Regions from separate parts of the Homo sapiens genome. Here regions 1 and 2 are each linked to region 3. Evidence: promoter capture Hi-C in human tissues and cell types (Jung and others, 2019). All regions are on one chromosome and are shown on one strand. The core of a region is centred on a gene start or on the middle of the fragment in contact, and the rest is flanking DNA. Distances in the headings are between cores, read along the strand shown. Region 1 overlaps INTU (inturned planar cell polarity protein). Region 2 overlaps MFSD8 (major facilitator superfamily domain containing 8). Region 3 holds the start of HSPA4L (heat shock protein family A (Hsp70) member 4 like).

Region 1 (4,126 bases), core at 1,410-3,909, 130 kb before region 3:
GGCAGAGGTTGCAATGAGCCAAGATTGTACCACCGCACTCCAGCCTGGGGGAACACAGTGAGACTCTGTCTCAAAAAAAAAAAAAAAAATTGTTTGGATGACTTATTATGCAACAATAGATGACTGGAACAGGGGCTAATACATACTTACATTCTCTTGGGTCCTCTACTTTCCTTCTTGTGAAATGATAGGATAGAACTAAATATCTCTATGGTTTGTTCTTTTAGTTCTGTAAAAGGAGCCAGAATTCATTTAACGTGCCCCCCTTTCAGTGGTGTTTCCTGTGAGTTGGTAGTTAGATCTTGAGGCCTATCAAACATATTTTATAGGTGGTCTGTGTGCTTCCATCAGGAACAACATATTATCTGCTGTTTTTCTTTTTGTGATATTAACAGTTATTGATGATCATTGCCTAAATCCATTAATTCATTAAGGGACTGCAAAATGGTGATATTCCAATTCTGTCAGTCTTTCTCAATATTTCAGTTAGACTACTTTCATAAAAAGAAGCTCCCCCTCACCTCTGGTAACCTTGACATATGGTTTAGACAGGAAAGGCAGGATAAATGTCTGATTTTTCTTCATTTAACAGTTTTCACAAAAGCAAGTTGGTACCATTATTCAAGGACTTCAGAATGGTAGGTTGGGAGGGGCCTTAATTCTCTCTAGTTTGGTGCCCACATATTATAGACGAGGGGTTGAGATTGAAACTCAAAAAAAAATAACAAAATTTATTGTTAGTAAATGCATTGGCAGAAAACATTGAGTTTTGAATGTATAAAATGGCAGTATAGTAACTGCTTTTCAAAAACCAGATTCCCTTTCCCTGAAGTCAAATTTGGCTTAATTAAAAGGATCAATTTCAATTCACAATTTGATCTCATTTTTCTGTCCCATACATATGTGCCACTCCTTCTATCCATAAATCCCCACCTCTAACAAGCAAGCCTGATTTATTTTTTTCCTAACTGACCTCCAGATACACCTTGTGTGTCCATCTTTGCTTTTTAGCATTCGTGATTCCTTTTTTGGTGCATCACAAAGATTGCTTTGTATTACTAGGCTAGTGCATTCATCTTCTATTGCTGCCGTGACAAATTACCACAAACTTAGTGGTTTAAAACAATACAGATTTATCATCTTGCAATAATGTAAGCCAGAAATCTAAAATGGGTCTTCTTGTATGAAAATCAAGGTGTCCACAGGGCTACATTCCTTTTGGAGGCTCCAGGGAAGAATCCCATTCCTTGGCCAGCTTTCAGAGGCTACCTGCATTCTTTGGCTTGTGGTCCTGTCCTCCATCATCAAAGCCAGCAGCATAGCATCTTCCAGTCTCTCTCATGCTGACCCTGACACTTTTGCCTTCCTCCTATAAAGACCTTTATCTTTACCTGACGATCATTCGGATAATCCAGGACAGTCTTCCAATCTTTTAAGTTAATTACAACTGCAAAGTCCTTCTTGCTGTGTAAGGTAGCATATTCAGAGATTTCAGGGATTGAAACATAGACATCTTTGGGGGGCAATTATGCTGCCTACCTCAGTGGGGGGTTTTTTGGTAAAATATGAGTTTTTTTTCTTTTTGTGATAGTAATAATATACGTTCATTGTAGACAATTTAGAAAATACAATTAAGCAAAAAAGAAAAATTCCATATACCCAAAGACAACATTTTGTTATATATCCTCCCTTTTCCTACATTTATATACAATAATCTTTTGTCAAAAATAATTTAAGTTGTATATTCATTTTATATATAGTATAAACACAGCAGTAAACAAACTTTTGCATATATATTTTCATAGCCCTTGGTGCCTTATGTAGTAGCCCTTTAGTACACATGTTGTTTGATGTTAAGTATATACTGAGAAATTGATGGCTTTTCTCACATAATTTAACTTTACATTGAGGAACTGTGATAAACTGATCTCTTTTTAAAATATTTTATTTGGTTCTTAAATATATCTCTTAATAAAAATTTTCTCATATTTCTACCCAGGCCATTTCTTATTTAACAATGCAAATCAATCATATAATTCATTCCCTTTTAGCCTTTGAAATGGGACAGATCATATTAATGACTCCCGTGTACTTATGGAGAAAGACCTTTCCTTGGGTTTAGGATGTCCACTGCAAAGGTGCGATGTCCGGGAAGCCAGCCATCTCTGAGTCACTTCACAGAAGTGTTCAGAAACACTAGAGGAAAACAAATGTCTGGGAGAATGAGAAGTGGATATAATATTTATTTCATAGAATGGGAAAATTTTCTACTAAACATTTAAAAATATTGGGTATACTACACTTGCTTTCAGAATTTATTTTCATATATTTTTATGATGAACCATCTCCTCTTTTTAGAGGTTTGTTAGACTTGATAATTTTAGATAATACTCCCTATAACACTCAGCTACAGGAATGTATTCATTAGGATTTGGAGAAAAAAGTCATTTGGCACATCATCCAATGGAGTTTTAGTTTAAAGTAACAAATTTAAAATGTTTTTACTATTTCTGTGCCCTGAGGATAACAAACTATAGACAACAGAACTAATCATTAGGATAGTCCAAAAGTGGTTTCATTTTACATTGACACAGCTATACTGTGTCCATCATTCCTTTATTTTCTTTTAATCACTACAGCTATAAGTAATTTGATATAGTACTTTTGTTTAATCTCTTATATAGGAGAAATTAAACAGGCATCTTGTTGTGTTTTTTTTTTTCCAAGTGGACTTCAAGTTGAAAGTTTATTTTGGTCTGCAAGTTCTTACTTTTAAGAAAAGTTTGTCCAAAGTGCTGTAATAGTTAACCATCATAATGACTTGGTGCCCATGCTTGCAAAACTCCCATCTGAGTTGTATCTCTTGAGCATCTAAACCTAGTTCAAGCCTTCACAGTTGGCCTAAGAAAGTACTCCTGCTTACTCTGCACTTAACCCCATTCTCATTCAATAGAGTATCAAGGAGAGGAAGGAAAAAAAGGAGGAATAGCAGTACCTACAGTGGCAACATTTTCATCTGTTTGCCAACCCTACAGATGGCCAAGTGATGCCTAATAATGGGTTGCCTTAAAGGAAAGGAACTCTGAACTTAGGGAACACCAATCTTTTATAAAGAACAGTTATTAATAATAAGATATTGAGCACAGCATTGACCTTATTATACCATTCAGTAAACAAGCTTGACCTTTGCTCAGGATGGAAACATATCTCTGTTGTCCAAGGCTGTTCATTACACGAACGTCTTTGAAAAGACAGTCTAGAACAAAGACTCTCAATGCCTCGGCTTGTAAGATGTACAGAAACATGAGACTCATGAAGAATTATCTACCAACACGATTCTACATATACAGGTTGAGTACTCCTTCTTCAAAATACCTGGGACCAGAAGTGCTTCCAATTTTTTTTTTTTTAATATTGCATTATACTTACCTGTTGAGCATCCCAAATCTGACAATCCTAAATCCAAAATGCTCCAATGAGCATTTCCTTTGAGGGTCACGTTGGTGCTCAAAAAGTTTTGGATTTTGGAGGATTTTGGATTTTCAATTTTTGGATTTGGGATACTTAGCCTGTATACATGTTTATTATCCATCTTCCCCAAAGAATATTAAGCTCCCTGAGAGTAGAGATTTTGTCTTTGTTCAATTCTTTGTCTCTAGTGCTTAGAAGAGTGCCTGGCACACATTAAGTGCTCAGTAAATATTTCTTAAATGAATGGATGAATATGAATTATTTCATCAATTTCCTAATAATATATTTAGGAATGATGAGAAAAATAACTTTGGTATGTCTATATTTCTATTAATATAGCTCACTGGTATTTTGATAGTATCTTTAATTATGTTCTGAAAGTGAATTTCCATTTTAACACTGATATTTATTTTATTATCAGATTTGGAAAACATACACATTTCTTTTAAAGTACACGGAAAAGGAAATTTTTACCAAACATGCAGTGTATTTTGATATGGTTGGGGCCTTTGAAGCAAAGAACTGTTTGTAGACATAGATCAATAACAGAAGTGAATACTATAGCATATTGTGTTATGATATGCCACATGGATTTAATTAGAATTTCAGGTGGGTTTTTGTTTTGTTTTGTTTTAATTTTTTAATTTTTTTTATT
Region 2 (3,650 bases), core at 806-3,305, 170 kb after region 3:
TTCAGGCCAGGCACGGTGGCTCATGCCTGTAATCCCAGCACTTTGGGAGGCCTGGGTGGGCGGATCATGAGGTCAGGCTATCGAGCCCATCCTGGCTAACACAGTGAAACCCTGTCTCTACTAAAAATACAAAAAATTATCCGGGTGTAGCGGCATGCATCGTAGTCCCAGCTACTCGGGAGGTTGAGGCAGGAGAATGGCGAGAACCCGGGAGGCGAAGCTTGCAGTGAGCAGAGATTGCGCTACTGCACTCCAGCCTGGGTGACAGAGCAAGACTCTGTCTCAAAAAAAATAAATAAATAAAAATAAATAAATATTAGCTTCATTTTAAAGTATTTTGAATTGACATAGTTACTTTGATCAGTAAAGGACTGAAAGCACCAATTAATCTTTTAAATCAAGGCTACAATTTTGGAGTACAGAAATTTGTAAACAAAATGTTTAACATGCCAATTAAAATCTAAAGTTGGCCAGGCACAGTGGATGATGCCTGTAATCCAAGCACTTTGGGAGACTGCGGCAGGCAGATCATTTGAAGTCAGGAGTTCAAGACCAGCAATGGCAACATGGTGAAACCCCGTCTCTACTAAAAATACAAAAATTAGCTGGGCGTGGTGGCAGGCACCTGTAGTCTCATCTATTCAGGAGGCTGAGGCAGGAGAATCGCTTGAACCCGGGAGGCAGAGGTTGAGGTGAGCTGAGATCGTGCTACTGCACTTCAGCCTGGAAGACAGAGTGAGACTCCACCTCAAAAAAAAAAAAAAAAAAAAAATCTAAAGTTAAAATAATTTTCTTTTTTTGCTGTTGAATTTGAAATTGTTTCTTATAATTTTAGATAATTGAGTACTAAAAACCAGAAGTGTTTAAAATGGAAAAATAAATCAATTGCAGGCATTGCTACCAAAACAGTATCCATTGGCCCCTTCCACCTTCTTGATGGAACCCCAGTTCTATTCAGGTATCCATACTTCCTCAACAAAGCCTCATGGTCTAAGAGAAACTCTCTCCATGTTCGATCCCAGAGGGTACATTCTGATTAGTCTAAAAAATTCAACTGGAGTAATCCCATCATCTTAGTTGATGTTGGTTTAGAAATTTACAGGTCACACCTGTAATCCTAGCACTTTGGGAGGCTGAGGCGGGCGGATCACCTGAGGTCGGGAGTTCAAGACCAGCCTGACCAACATGGAGAAACCCCGTCTCTACTAAAAATACAACATTAGCTGGGCATGGTGCCGCATGCCTGTAATCCCAACTACTTGGAAGGCTGAGGCAGGAGAATCGTTTCAACACGGGAGGCTGAGGTTGCAGTGAGCCAAGATCGTGCCACTGCACTCAGCTCAAAAAAAAAAAAAGAATAAATTACGTTACAGTATAAGCCAACTGATTCAGCACTTTTTCTGATATTTGCACAAGGCATTCTGTTTTTTTTTTTTTTTTTTTTTTTTTTTTGAGACGGAATCTTGCTCTGTGGCCCAGGCTGGAGTGCAGTGGTGTGATCTTGGCTCAGTGCAACCTCTGCCTCCTGGGTTCAAGTGTATTTTTAGTAGAGATGGGGTTTCACCATATTGGCCAGACTGGTCGCAAACTCCTGACCTCGTGATCCGCCCGCCTCAGCCTTGCAAAGTGCTGGGATTACAGGCGTGAGCCACCTTGCCTGGCCCTGCACAAGTCATTCTAACTGATACACAATGCAAGGTGAAAATGTATTATAAAGAATTGTTGAAAATATCCTTTATCATTCACTTTTCTTTTTACCCAGTACTGAATCATGCACAACTTTGGCAAGTGAGAGAAAACAGGATGATTGGGGTAAATAGAAAATATATGGAAAATATATGGAAAGCAATTTAGTAAAATGACCTTCCTTAATTCCTCTCAGGGGAAAGAGACCACTTGTAATATTAGTGCCTATAGATTTAGAGGGTTTCTACTTGGAAAAAAATTCATTTCCTAAAACAGTCCTTTAAAAACTATCACAATATTGATCATTCCTATATATTCTCATCCCATCCTTTTAACATGGTTATAGATGTTTAATATTTTGAAAAGTTTTCCTCATGAAGTTTTACTTTTTAGTAACTACATATTCAGAAATAATGTGAATAGGTTAAAATACATCAAGCAATACAAATTGAGATTCTTGTATTTTACTTTTTGTATGTTTTATCAATATAAAAATAAGTTGAGGTTAGAGGCAACAAAAGATAAAAACAGCCAGGTGTGGGGCTCATGCCTGTAATCCCAGCACTTTGGGAGGCCAAGGCAGGTGGACTACCTGAGGTCAGGAGTTTGAGATCAGCCTGGCAAAAATGGCAAAACCCCGTCTCTACTAAAAATACAAAAATTAGCCAGGTGTGGTGGCACACACCTGCAGTCCCAGCTACCAGGGAGGCTGAGGCACAAGCATAGCTTGAACCCGAAAGCGGGAGGTTGCAGCGAGCCGAGATAGTGCCATTGCACTCCAACTTGGGCAACAAAGCAAGACTCTGTCTCAAAAAGAAAAAAACAGAGAAGGTGGACTACATCAGTATTTAACACTTCTGTGAATGTGAATCACAGGATACATTTAGCACACTGAATAGAAGAGTCCTGGAATGGGAGAAAATATTTACAAATCATATATTGGATAAGGGGCTAACATTCAGAGTATATAAAGAATTCCTACAACTCAACAACAAAAAATCCAACTAATAAATGGGCAATGGTCTTGAACAAACACTTCTCCAAAGAAGATATACAAATGGACAGAAAGCACAAGAAACATGTTCAACATCACTAATCATTAAGAAGATGCAAATCAAAACAAGATACCATCTCATCCACTAGGATGACTACTATCCAAAAGAAAGTTAACGTTGGCAAGGATGTGAAAAAATTGGAACCCTGACTGTTGTTGAGAATGTAAATAAAATGGTACGGCTGCTATGGAAAACAGTATGGCAATTTTCCAAAAAATTAAAAAATTAAAAAGAAAATCATAATATGATCCAGCAATTTCACTTCTGGATATATACCCAAAAGGACTAAAAGCAGGATCTTGAAGAGATATTTGCACACCCATATTGACAGCAGCACTATTCACAACAGCCAAGAGGTGGAAGCAACCCAAATGTCCATCGACAGATAAATGGCTAAACAAAATGTGGTAGGCCAGGCTAGGCTGTAATCCTAGCACTTTGGGAGGCTGAGGCCGGTGGATCACGAGGTCAGGAGTTCAAGACCAGCCTGGCCAAGATGGTGAAACCCCATCTCTACTAAAAATACAAAAATTAGCCGGGCATGGTGGTGGGTGACTGTAATCCCAGCTACCTGGGAGGCTGAGGCAGAGAATTGCTTGAACCCCGCAGGCGGAGGTTTCAGTGAGCCAAGATCACACCACTGCACTCCAGCTTGGACGACAGAGCGAGACTTTGTCTCAAAAAAAAAAAAAAAAAAAATGTGGTATATACTGAAGGCAATCAGAGTATGCTACTCCAAAAATCTGCTGTTTTGCCATATTAATTATCTCAAACTGAAGGCAACCGAGAAATAGCAGATGCAGGAAGGGTTCTCTGCTCTCCCCCTTTCTGCCTGAATGCAGAGAATAGATTGAATTTTGTTTTGTTGTTAATTCTTTGAGGCACAATTGAGATTCTGTTACCTACAAT
Region 3 (4,232 bases), core at 1,092-3,591:
CAAGGATGCTTACCACTACTGTTTATTTTCAAAATTTTACTGGAGCACTTAAGCAACATAATCCAGGCAAAACAATAAGAAACAGAAGAAATAGAAATGAAGAAATTCATTATTTCCCAGGCCATATTGTTCTATACACAGAAAATCCAAGAAATTCTGCAAATACTTGAATTTAGAATACAGCAAGGTTGCTGGATACATGACCAATGTACATGAATCAGGATCATTCAGCAGCTAAGCATAGCTAGCATTTATTGACCGTTTGGTGCCAGGGACTGATGCAGTGCTTACATTATTTAATCATAAAAACAGCCCAGTAGGCATATTTGTCCTCATTTTAACAGACTGAACCTGTGGCTTGGAGCATTAAGTAACTTGCCAAACGTTATACAGGTAGTAAGTTAGGCAAGCCTGGTACTACAACCCAAATCTGTGTGACCCCAAAGCCCGTCATGGTTTTAACCACTGGGTACTCTCACGTCCTGCCAGTAATTGTAAGGAACGTGATGATAACACCACTTTGCTCCTGGCCTCAACTTCCTTTTTACTTTGATATTTTAAGTGGTATTTTTAATAGGAAAAAAAAAAAACATTCTTACACCCTCAAGTTGTATAGACAACATGGATAAACTAATGGAATTAAGATAAATTAATTGTACTAGGAGAATTTCAGGATATTCTGGAATAAATCTAGATAGTGATGGCCGATGTCAGAAGAGGTGTGTGAGGAGAACTGGTGGAAGTCACAGGCGCCCAGCAGGACCAGGGCCCAGGGTTCAGTCGCAGGGCAACGCCCAATCCCTGTTCTGCTCACGAGCTGCCCGCTGGGACGCCGAGTTCTGCGGTGTCTCAGAGCGCAGCTTCACCCAGGGGCTCCACGTCTCCTGAGTGCTCATGAAGGGAAGAGAGGCCTGATTGATTTCTTCAATGTAGAGACCAGAGCCCAAGCAATACTGTACAATCCAGTTGCCTCAGTATTGCCCTTGAAAATGGATTTCACGTTCATTCTAACAGCAGCAGGAACTATAGCCACCCTTGCTGCTGCTGCTGCTGTAGCAACATTATTAATAGTAAAAAATCTAAGTTATTTAAAGAAGTGGACAACTAGGGATAATCAGAATACTAAAGAATCTAGTAAACAAAACAAACAAACAAAAAAACACGCCTGTTTTCAAGATGGATACCAAAATGGAACAGGAAAACACACAAAGAATTGGATGAGAAGGAACAGAGACTAGATGAAGAGGACGGGGAGGAACAGGGAACAGACCAAGGACTGGCAGAGAAGGAACAGGGCACACACGTAAAAGTGAACGAAAAGCAACAAGACAGCCAAATTTCTTAAGTGTAACATAAAACTTGGTTAATTACAGACAGGCAACACATGCCGATCAAACCAAGAGGGAGGGCGCTGGACCACACTGGGCTCTTTTTTGAGGACCACAGGGCAGCGGCTGGAGGCTAAAGCACAGACTTGGCTGGTGTGAGTGGCACACTTAATTAAGGTCACTTTCCTGTAAAACTGGTTTCCAGAGACAAGGGTCAGCGGCGGGGCCAGCATCTTTTAGAAAGGTGTGAGGAAAGGTACGTGGAGGGAAAGTTGTCAGTGTGATCTTATTTCTTGACAGAAGTTTGACTTTTGATATTTCAAATCCTGCTGATGAAAAAAGAAAAAAACCTAACATGTGCTCATCCCGCTTTCGCACAAGAGTCTGTCCCGGGCTCGGCAGCTCCCCCGGGGCTGGACAGGGCGGAGCGGCGGACGTCGGACAATGCGCGCCACCTCACAGAGCCGGGCGCGGCGGGCCTCCAGCCACAAGGGGAGGGCGCCGGGCTGCACATGGGCCCCTCGGGGAGGCGAGGCCTGCGGGCGAGCCCTTCTGAGGGCAGGGGGTGAGGGGGCGGCGCCCGCCAGCCAGGACAGCATCCTGCCGCCGTGACAAGCACGCCTCCGGTTGCCAAAACAACCCAAAAATGTGCCTCAAAACACGTTCGCAAAGCCCCGGGCCGGCCGGTCGCCTGCCTCTCACCTAGCCCGACCGCCCGACGTCCTACTGCCGAGCGAGGGCGAGCAAGCCAATGTGCCTAGCCTCCTTTCCCCGATCCTCCCCGCCCCGCCTTCCCGCTTCTCCCGCCCCCGGATAGCTCAGCAGCCTCCATTTTCCAGATCTTTCTCGAACCCGCAGCTTCTTGGGCAGCCGTTGCCCGAGTGCTGACGGAAGCGGCCGAAGTCCGGGCCCGGAGCTGGCTCGGGCGCGGAGCGGAGGCTCGCGCGCCTCCCGGGCAGCCGAGCGCGCAGGCGCAGGTCCCAGTAACCGCCGGTTGGAGGCGGCCGAACCGCAGTAGGGAAAGACCCAGGCTGCGGGACGCGGTGCAGGCTGCGGCGCTGACGGCCTCTGCTCCTTCCGCGGGTTTCCGACTCCCTGCCCTAGATTTTCTGCTTAGCGACTTGGGGTCCCCTCTCGTTTGCTTCTGGTAGGAGTCGCAATCCCAGCAGCAATAGCCCAGAAGAGGACACGGTTCCCGTACCGAAGGGTTCAGTACCAGCAGCCCGACCATCACGCGGCGGGATGTCTGTGGTTGGCATTGACCTCGGCTTTCTCAACTGCTACATTGCTGTCGCGAGAAGTGGCGGCATCGAGACCATCGCCAATGAGTACAGCGACAGGTGTACCCCGTAAGTGCCTCTGCTGAGCATCACCTCGACCCTAAGAAACGTTTTTCTCTCCCGTCCTTAACGTTTGTCCTGTCTGCTCGCTTCCTCGGATTTTCCCCTAACGTGCGCCGAACCCCGAGATGACAGGTGCAACCCGTCAACCGCAGTCCCTAGAGACCGCCGGGTGGCAGTCGGACTTCCTCGCCCCGCAAAGCTTCTTTTCCTTCAAGGACGAGGGACCGCACTAGTTTGCGCAGCTCTCTTTTCTGTACCTACGCACGTCCCCTGCCTCGTGCCGCTGTCCCCCAACGCCTCTTTTGCTTGCGAGGAAGAGGTTGCTGTGGGACAGCCCCTGGCGTCCGGAATATTGAGAAAGATCTCCGGTTGCCTCTAACGAGGTTTACGTGGGATTATCGGCCCCGCGCCAGCTGCCCTCCTTCCTTTCCCCGTCCCTCTGGGTGACAGCTTTTTCTCAGAAAAGTAAAAAGTCAGCTTCGGCTGCACACGTCAGAGATGAATTGCAGGTTCATCTGGCCCCGAAAGCCTTTTTTTTTTTTTTAAGGGCGGGGAGTGAGGCATGTGGGGTTTTACAAAACCCAGTGCCCTTGAGAACTGCAGGTAATGGAGCCGGTTTACAGGGCCAGGTCAATGGTGCATTGATAGGGAGAGCCTCGGGATGGGAGTCACTGGCCTTGTGCATTGGTAACTACGTCAGTTGCTGGAATGCGGCGGGGTTGGGTCGGACCAAAAGCGTGTTTCTGCAGAGTGAATTGCCGGAGTCGGGGGCAGCTGTCCCGTATAAACATGACTGTGGAGTGATTCTATTATGAACGCTTAATGAAAGGCTTAGGAGGAGCGGCGTTATGTCATGGAAACATGTTTCCACATGTTCCGTTGTTTCTCTGGCCTGGGAAGTTTGTTGGCAAGGAATATAATGAAGTAATTCTGAAATATGAAAAACTAGTTGCTGCTTATAGGCTGCTGTTACTGGTAATTTTATGAGGAAACCAACTGTATGAAACCTATATTACTTTTTATGGAAAGGTAATTTGGCATCTTAATTTGACCGTTCTGAATGGTCCAAAATATAATACCTTAACTATACTAAAACAAGGTCAGTGTCCAATGGTCTTTAAATGCCTCATTTACTATTCTATGGAAAGCTTTAAAATATGGCAAAAAGATGTTGAAGAGTAGCTCACTTGAAGCAGTCTGTGCTTTGATTTCTTTCCAAGAAGATTCTAGAAGGTTTTATACCTTTTTTCGTAGATGTACACGTTTCTTCTATTGAAATTTTAAACGTTTTGGACGTTTATATTTTCAATACATGGGCATAGATAAGGTAATCCTCAATAATGTTTGAACTCTTCTACTTTTTACATCTTTTTCTGGCTTTTATGCACAGTGAGAGGCCGAAACAGTAACTGTGAAGTCGATGAATTCGTCTCTACAAGGTTTTATATTAAGCCACAACAAATACTGGCTTTCGCCAGAAACAGACCGGAAATTCCACTCTCCACCTTCAGCAGAGTAGGGGTTAAAAATGGGAGCAATCTTTGGCTTCATTGACTCTCAA

What was found. The method cuts DNA at HindIII sites, captures the fragments that hold promoters and counts their contacts. A contact is called where the count stands out against the background at its distance.
Region 1: a fragment that was not itself captured here is called in contact with the fragment with the promoter of HSPA4L in region 3 in 1 of the 25 tissues and cell types used here (heart right ventricle).
Region 2: a fragment that was not itself captured here is called in contact with the fragment with the promoter of HSPA4L in region 3 in 1 of the 25 tissues and cell types used here (adrenal gland).

The regions. Positions count from the first base shown.
Region 1 is chr4:127,646,113-127,650,238 of GRCh38, forward strand. All of the region lies in intron 2 of INTU (inturned planar cell polarity protein), which reads left to right. Among named protein-coding and RNA genes, the nearest start is that of INTU, 15 kb to the left of the region's middle. The HindIII fragment of the contact is 4,339 bases long and covers 491-4,126 here.
Region 2 is chr4:127,952,120-127,955,769 of GRCh38, forward strand. All of the region lies in intron 2 of MFSD8 (major facilitator superfamily domain containing 8), which reads right to left. Among named protein-coding and RNA genes, the nearest start is that of MFSD8, 11 kb to the right of the region's middle. The HindIII fragment of the contact is 5,881 bases long and covers 1-3,650 here.
Region 3 is chr4:127,779,981-127,784,212 of GRCh38, forward strand. HSPA4L (heat shock protein family A (Hsp70) member 4 like) reads left to right here and starts at 2,342. Exons shown (of 19, transcript NM_014278.4): 1 at 2,342-2,677. The coding sequence starts at 2,571. RefSeq lists silencers at 1,703-1,872, 2,153-2,222 and enhancers at 2,363-2,512, 2,412-3,404, 3,013-3,092. The HindIII fragment of the contact is 5,760 bases long and covers 1-3,344 here.